Regions from separate parts of the Homo sapiens genome. Here all the other regions are linked to region 3. Evidence: promoter capture Hi-C in 16 types of primary human blood cells and fetal thymus (Javierre and others, 2016). All regions are on one chromosome and are shown on one strand. Each heading gives the region's core, a stretch centred on a gene start or on the middle of the fragment in contact. The rest is flanking DNA. Distances are from core to core; before and after follow the strand shown.

Region 1 (2,700 bases), core at 179-2,678, 370 kb before region 3:
TGTGTGTGTGTGTAGGAAAGGGGGTGGAGGAGAGGGAAAGAAAGAGAAAGTGATTGCAAGGAACTGGCTTATAGGATTGTGGATGCTGGATAGGCAAGTCTGAAATCCATAGAGCAATTTCGTTTACTTAAAGTGAACTGATTACAAATATTAATCACATCTTTAAAATACATTTACAACAAAACCTAGATTAGTGTTTGGTTGAATAACATATAACTGATCAACAAATAGAGTTTATTTTAGAAACAGTTTCAAACCTCTTTCAAATTTGAAAGGCAATTAATGATTAATTAACATTAATAAAGTAAAGGAGAAATATAATATGGTCATCACAATAGAAATAGAAAATAATAATAAAAGATATTCAGATTAGAAAAAATAAAACTTATTATTCTCAGATGACATGATTGTGTTCGTGTAAAATCAAAAATAATGTACAAAACAACTAAAATTATAACTAAACTTAACAAGGATGATAGATAAAAGTCAATTTACAATAAATCAATTGTATTTTGATTTATTAGCAACCATCAAATAAGAAATAAAAATTTTAAGATATCATTTATTATAGCACCCACAAACATCAAACAAACAGAAATAAATCTGTTAGAAAATGTGCAACTTCTCTAGGCTGAAAACTATAAAATAGTACTGAGAGAAATGAAAGAAGTCCTAAATAAATGAAAAAATATTCAATATTTATGAGTTAGAAATTTGATATTGTAACATGTCAATTATCTTCACTTTTTTGTATAGAGTTAAAGAAATTCTCATCCCAGCAGGGTTTTTTAAATAAAATTGACAGGCAAATTCTAAAACGTGTATGAAAATGCAAAGAATTGGTCGGGCGTGTTGGCTCTGCCAGCACTTTGGTGGATCACCCGAGGTCAGGTGTTCGAGACCGGCCAGCCTGACCAACATGGTGAAACCCCTTCTCTACTAAAAATACAAAATTAGGGCCGGGCGCGATGGCTCGCGCCTTTAATCCCAGCGCTTTGGGAGGTCGAGGCGGGCGGTCACGAGGTCAGGAGTTCGAGACCAGCCTGACCAACATGGTGAAACCCTGTCTCTACTAAAAATACAAAATTAGGGCCGGGCGTGATGGAGCGCGCCTGTAATGCCAGCTAATCAGGAGGCTGAGGCAGGAGAATCGCTTGAACCCGAGAGGCAGAAGTAGCAGTGAGCGGAGATCGCGCCACTGCACTCCAGCGTGGGCGACAGAGTGGGACTCCGCCTAAAAAAAATTAATAAATATATACAAAATTAGCCAGGCGTGGTGGCGCATGCCTGTAATCCCAGCTACTTGGTAAACTGAGGCAGGAGAATCGCTTGAACCTGGCAGGCGGAGGTTGCAGTGAGCCAAGATCGCGCCATTGAACTCCAGCCTGGGCAACAAGAGTGAAACTCAAAAAAAAAAAAAAAAAAAAAGGAAGGAAGGAAGGAGCAAAGAGAATAGCCCAGCCAGCCAATATTTTAAAAAGGGATAAATTTGCGAGATTTATACCGCCCGATATCAAAATTTGTTATAACATTGCAGTAACTACGACTGCGGTATTAGTTTGAAAGTAGAACAATAGAACAAAATAAGAAGTCAAAAACGTTCCCATACATATACGGCCAACTAAGTTATGACAAAACTCCACTGCAATGTAGTAGGGGAAAAAAAAATGGTAGGAAATGATTCTGGGTCATTTGAATATCCATGTGGGGAAATAAATGAACCTTGACCCCTACCTCAATCCATACAAAAATATTTGTAAGAAATGGATCATAGACCTAAATGTGAGGGTTAAAATAATCCAGCTTCTAAATTAAAACAGAAGAAAATATACTGGGTAGACAAAGATTTCCTAAACAGGACATAAAAAGTACTATTTTATAAAAGAAAAATTATTTTATATTTTATAAAAGAAAAAACTGATAAATTGAAATCCTTAAAATTAAAAACTTTTAGTTCTTGAAAGACATTGAAAAGAGAGCGTGTAGGGAAGCAATAGGAAGATTTTGTGTCATATCTATCTGTATCTATGGCTACAGTTGTGTAACTTCTTTTATTTTTAATTCGCTGATTCCCCACGAGAGGGCGCCTTTCCACAAGTCCTTATTTAGCACAGCACTGATGGCCATAGACAATGCTCGAGCCTGGCTTTCTAGCACATCTCCATTTCCCAACACAGAGGCTAAGCCCTTTGTGGGAGGCACACATGTAGTCAGACAATCCTGGTAATATGTGATACGTTTGGGGAAAAATTTTTTTTAACAGTGACTTAAGACCTGGTAAGGTATCTGTGTGGCCAGATTAAAGGATAAGAGTGAGTTAGTAAAACCTAAAATGAACTGGGCGTGGTGGCTCACGCCTGTAATCCCAGCACTTTGGGAGGCCGAGACGGGCGGATTACGAGGTCAGGAGATTGAGACCATCCTGGCTAACACGGTGAAACCCCGTCTCTACTAAAAATACAAAAATATTAGCCGGGCGTAGTGGCGGGAGCCTGTAGTCCCAGCTACTTGGGAGGCTGAGGCAGGAGAATGGCGTGAACCTGGGAGGCGGAGCTTGCAGTGAGCCGAGATAGCGCCACTGCACTCCAGCCTGGGCGACAGAGCGAGACTCCGTCTCAAAAAATAATAATAATAATAAATAAAATAAACCTAAAATACAGGCAGTTCGTCTCTTTTTAGAAGTCAAAACCTTAACATCTG
Region 2 (2,700 bases), core at 177-2,676, 270 kb before region 3:
TTTACATTGCTCTATGCTTTTATTACCTTATCTATAAAATGGGGTTATTTTGAGGAATAAATAGATAAGCATGTAAACCTACCATGTATAGAAGATAGTAAGCACTTAGCACTTAATGGTAGCTGCTATCCTCCTCATCATCATCATTATCACCTGGTAGCAAAGTACAGCAGAATTGGCTCTCCATGCTTAAGACTTACAGCTCTCTGATTATTTTTGTTACCCTCAAGTGTATTTGATATACTTTCTGTACATAAGTGAACATTTTCCCAAGGGTCCAGGCCCTAAACATGCCAGACTACCAGTGGATCGCAGAGTGCTGGAAGAAAGCTCACTCTAAATTCACCCTGAACATATCTGAAAACATTATTTTTATATATAGCCAATTACACTTTTCTAGCCTAGAAATGAGCCTTCACAAGGTCAGAGAATGTTTCCTCTCTTCCTAACAGCACTCTGTATGTTACTTTTTTATATTATTTGCGTTTGAGTGGGCCTTACACTCCTAAAATGGTGCATAATTTTTGCATGATAGTTATATATGATAAATACACAGAGGTAAGTTAGTATAATGGTAAACAGCAATTGCAATAAGGTAGATACAGGTTCAACTTCTGGTTTCTCTGCCTACTAGCTATGACCTTGGAGAAGATCCTTATGCTTCCAGAACCTGTCTCTATAAAATGGGATAATAAATACATATCTCGTATGAAGGTTGTGAAGATTAAATGAGGTGATAAGATCTAGTATTTGGTAACATAATATGGTAACTATAGTTAACTATTTATTGTATATTTTTAAATAACTAAAATAGTAGAATTAGAATGTTCCTACTACAAAGAAATGCTTGAGGTGCTGGATACCCCAATTACTGTAATTTGATCATTACACATGGTATGCCCATATCAAAACATCACATGTACCCAACAATTATATACAACTATGTACCCATAACTAAAAGTGCAGATTTTTTAAAGATTGAGATGGTTTGTTTAAAGTATTTAGCACATAGTAAATTCTCAATAAATGTCACTTTTTATTATTACAAAAAAGACATGAATTAGATGAACCTAGTGGCTCAGGTTCATTTTCAATTAAATAAGCATTTATTGTGCACCTTCCAAGTATCTTACACTCTGCTACTTTCTGTGGGTACTAGTTAAAAGAAATGTATAACATGAGTCCTCTAAAACAAAGTCTGTGCTTTTCACATGTATATGACCCTGAAAAAAAAGGTATCTTGCAACCATGTCCTCGTACTGGAAGGTGGGGCTGGTACTAGCCTTTCTGCAATCATCTGTAGATAACAATGTGAAGGAGGAAGGTAAATATGTAGAGGTGGAGTTAGGTTTGATGGAAAATGAATCACCTCATTCACTATAATCACTATAAGCTATATAAGGGTCATTATCCCAATCCATCGTCACCCTGCAAGCTGCATCAGGCTTTATCCTACTTGTTCCTTTGGTGAACCAGGTGAGAGAAAATTCATCCAGCTACATTTATGAATATTTGGTGTTGTCCATAGTAGAAGTCTAGGGATATAAGCTAAGGCAGAGTTCATGTATATTTTGCCTTTCTTTTCTTTTTTGTTTCTTTCTTTCATTTTCTTTTCTTTTTGTTTGCTTATTTGTTTGGTTAGTTTAGTTTATTCTGGGGCCTTTTTGTAGTTAAGTTCATTTTTATGGAGAAGAATAATGCAAGTAAAAGTTCACCTTCCTCTAGGCCATTCCACAGTCTGTTCCGAGTCTTTTTCCATGCCCTCTTTTCTGGGCTGTCCAGCTCAAACTGGGAGGCAGCTGGGTCTGTTGCAGAGTCCCTTCCTTATTCAGTGTTGGTTCCCAGAGCTCCAAGATCTAATTATCCACTAGTTAAACTGCTGCCTGCATTGCTGAGCTCTTCTTCTTGATTAATTAAAGAAAACAGTGTTTGGTCAAGTGCTTGACATTAAGAGAGTTCCTAAGCTCTACTGAGTTCTACTGTCTCATGCCTATGAAACACCAAGCTATTTTGAGCCCCTTTGCCCATTTTTAATTTGCTGAAGGCCTTAAGGGTCCAGTTTAGCTTCTGGTGCCCAGAGGATAAACAGATGTGCATGGTGGAAGGTCTGTCACTTTTGACTCAAGAAAAGCAGTGAAACTAGAAAGAGAGATTGAGGCAATGGTGTCTGGCTGGTTCTGGAAATTTTGGAAGCCTTAGAACAACACCCAGAATGCCAACACACTCAAAGTGTAGAGATACTATGTAGAGACTATACTTACCCATGACAGGAAATATAGAGACTTGAGGTCTATTCTCAGTTGAACCAGTAACATGCCAAGACTTGATCACAGAAAAGTAACTCAAAGTTAACAAAGTTAATTTTCATTGTGTTAAACGGGGTTGTATCATCCCTGGCCCATTCTTACGTTTTGAGATTTAAAAAACAAGAGGTTAAAAAAATCATGCTGGTTATTATTAAAATGAAAATTGCTGATAAAAGGAGAGAATATGAATAATAGGGTTCTTTGTTTTTCTGTGTCCAGGTTCACTTAAACTTGCAAAAAGATGACCGACCTCTTGAGAAGTGTTGTCACCGTAATTGATGTTTTCTACAAATACACCAAGCAAGATGGGGAGTGTGGCACACTGAGCAAGGGTGAACTAAAGGAACTTCTGGAGAAAGAGCTTCATCCAGTTCTGAAGGTGAGAGCCATGTGC
Region 3 (2,700 bases), core at 99-2,598:
AGACAGTTATTATGTCTCCCATAAGTGTTTCTTTCCAATCCAGCCTTGAATATACCCAGTTCTTCATGAGACTGGCCCATGAGCTCCAGAGCAGGAAGATATAACTTACTCAACTCTAAACACTCCAGTTCCTGGCATAGTGTTGAGAAATAGCTGGTACTCTGGGGATATTAACTAATCAGAACTAAGATGACCTTCACATGCCAATTCCAATTCCCAGAAGTCTTCTCCCTTTGGGAGGATGCTGAGAAATTGTTTGTAGGTGTAAAGTATCAGTATGAATGTTTTTCCCCAAAATTTAGTTCCCTTGTATGTTCCTCGATAATCAGGAAATTCAGAATAAGGTTTTTGCTCAATAGCAATGCATCCCTTAGCTTCAGCTTTCTCATATAATTACCCCCATTCCCACCCCATCTTTAACTTGGTCTGTGTCTTTTATATTTGTTTGCATTGATCTGTCTATTTCTTCCATCCTTTGACAAGGAGTGTTTTAAAACATACTCTATTTTTTAAAAATATCTAAGAAAACCATTGAATCTAATTCTTATTTTATTAAATATTCTCTACTAAGAAGGACCCAGATCTAGGAGACAATTAAAATGTTTGCCAGTTCAGCATCTCAGACTCACTTCTGTTCTCAGCTTGATGATTTCAACATCTCCCTTTCCCCTTTACAGGGAGAACACAGTAATATAGATTATTGGTTTCAAGCTCCTTGTATAGTAAAAATGTCTTTAGAAAGCAAATATCAATCACGTTTTTAAAATAGCACAACATAGGTAAGCAAGGCTTTGCACACCAAGCAAGAATTTTTTTTTTTTTCTAACTCTGCCTCTGGGCAAGGAGAGCAAAGCATTGAAACATCTGAATCAACTGGTATCTCCACTTTTGTCACATGGCTAAATGGGGGCCTTTATTTTTAAACACATGATTGACACCCATCTCTCAGGTTTGGGTCAAATACGGGCCATCTTGTGGGCAGACAGAGGAATCAGATGACTTATGAGGTCCCTGCCAGCACTATGATTTGTCAGACAGAAATGTAATTATGTCCTTAGGTTAAAAAATGGGGGAGGGAAGCCAACACTACCTTGAAGAGCCTTCAAAACTATAATCTGCAAAAGTCAGTAAATGAATCAAGAAACCCCCTCCCCTTTCTTTTGATGCATCTGAAGCTAAGATTTAATTGAAACTGCCTAAAGAAGGAAATAAAATTAAGACAACTGACAACAGAGCAGGGGAGACTGGATTTGGTGGTGATGTCAGGTCATTAGACCCAGAGGGTGTCTCCTTCTTAACTGTGCAATTAGGACCTCAATAAAAGGTTCCAGCTCCTGCTGTCAGCTCACAGCCCGCTGCCCCACGTTCTACCTGCTCTCGCTTGTGAACTAGGTAAGTCCATCTGCTTGAGCATACTTGGGATTTCAGTTGCTGTTTTGCTTATATGTGAGATTGCAAGAGGATTTCAAAGGAAACACACTTTAAGTCTATGTCAACCCCTATTAATAATAATAAACTGGGAGCGCCAACCACCCAAATGCATTCCTTGATTATGGAACTTCTTTGATCATTTTCTTTTTAAAAAAAACATAAATTGTTTAGAAGTCATAGGCATGAATATTATTCAACAAGGCACAGGATCAGATCTCTATTGCAATGAAAATGTAGAAGCATTTAAAGGATGGGAAATGAATGAATAAGGGGTCGGGACATGGAATCATGTCTTCTTGGTTAAAGCATGTTGTTACCACCTGCAAACATAGGGGTTAATTTTCTTGGTGTGACTTATCTTTCCACTAGAAGCTTTGCTAACTTTAAAGGTTATACCCTCCTAACCGCAGGAGGCTAGACTGAGCCAAAGGGAGAGGAGAGCAGATAGACACTCTTGGATGAGGCTGGAAGAATGGGTCCAACTCTATTGGCTTCATTTATGCATTTCAATCCTTATGCTTGAGTTCTCTTATCACCTTCCTTTTGCAATGAAGCTTTCTCTGAGCACATGAATGTTGCTGTTTACTGAAGAGTGGGGTGAATTGTCTCTTCTAATACTTACCTATGCTGGGTCTGATTTCACCACAATGTCTGGTACAATACTAAATCACCCCTGGAGTTCAGATATAATATTTTAAGATACAGAATAGAGCAGGGGTTGCAGTGGAGATGGGGGAGGAACAAAAAGGATAATCTTGGTATCTCCTCCCTGAAGGACCCATCCTGGAAAATGAGCTTTGTTTATTCTTTCTCACAGCCTCTCCTGAGTTTGTAAAGATGCCTCAGCTCCTGAGAAATGTCCTCTGTGTAATTGAGACATTCCACAAATATGCCAGTGAGGACAGTAACGGGGCAACACTGACTGGCAGAGAGCTGAAACAACTCATCCAGGGCGAGTTTGGGGACTTTTTTCAGGTGAGCTTCTCACAGAGCTGTGTAAATTCTTTCCAACTCACCCTTTCTTTATAATCCAAGCAAGATGAGCATATGTGATCCCCATCCATTTTACACCTAGCTAACAGTTCTCAGCACTCACTGTCTCTTGAACAACTATTTTCAGTCTCAGTTCCATACTCTGTGCAATTACTTAGAGAAAAAGAGGTTTTCGTCACTGGGATTATTGCTTCTGCAAAGCTGACTTCTGAAAGGAGTCATAAACCATTATGCATCAAAATGCAACTCACAAGTGTTGTAAATGCTCTTTCTCAG

Evidence for each region. The method cuts DNA at HindIII sites, captures the fragments that hold promoters and counts their contacts. A CHiCAGO score of 5 or more calls a contact.
Region 1: a contact is called between a fragment that was not itself captured here and the fragment with the promoter of TCHHL1 in region 3, in 3 of 17 cell types (M2 macrophages, total CD4 T cells and naive CD8 T cells). The highest score is 6.7, in M2 macrophages.
Region 2: the fragment with the promoter of FLG2 here is called in contact with the fragment with the promoter of TCHHL1 in region 3 in 5 of 17 cell types (total CD4 T cells, naive CD8 T cells, naive CD4 T cells and 2 more); the score reaches 6.6 in total CD4 T cells.

What each region holds. Positions count from the first base shown.
Region 1 is chr1:152,461,145-152,463,844 of GRCh38, reverse strand. No RefSeq gene overlaps it. Among named protein-coding and RNA genes, the nearest start is that of CRNN, 48 kb to the right of the region's middle. The HindIII fragment of the contact is 5,711 bases long and covers 1-2,700 here.
Region 2 is chr1:152,358,732-152,361,431 of GRCh38, reverse strand. FLG2 (filaggrin 2) reads left to right here and starts at 1,426. Exons shown (of 3, transcript NM_001014342.3): 1 at 1,426-1,476; 2 at 2,526-2,685. The coding sequence starts at 2,548. All of the region lies in intron 7 of CCDST (cervical cancer associated DHX9 suppressive transcript), which reads right to left. The HindIII fragment of the contact is 5,522 bases long and covers 1-2,700 here.
Region 3 is chr1:152,087,712-152,090,411 of GRCh38, reverse strand. TCHHL1 (trichohyalin like 1) reads left to right here and starts at 1,348. Exons shown (of 3, transcript NM_001008536.2): 1 at 1,348-1,392; 2 at 2,249-2,406. The coding sequence starts at 2,269. The HindIII fragment of the contact is 6,885 bases long and covers 1-1,805 here.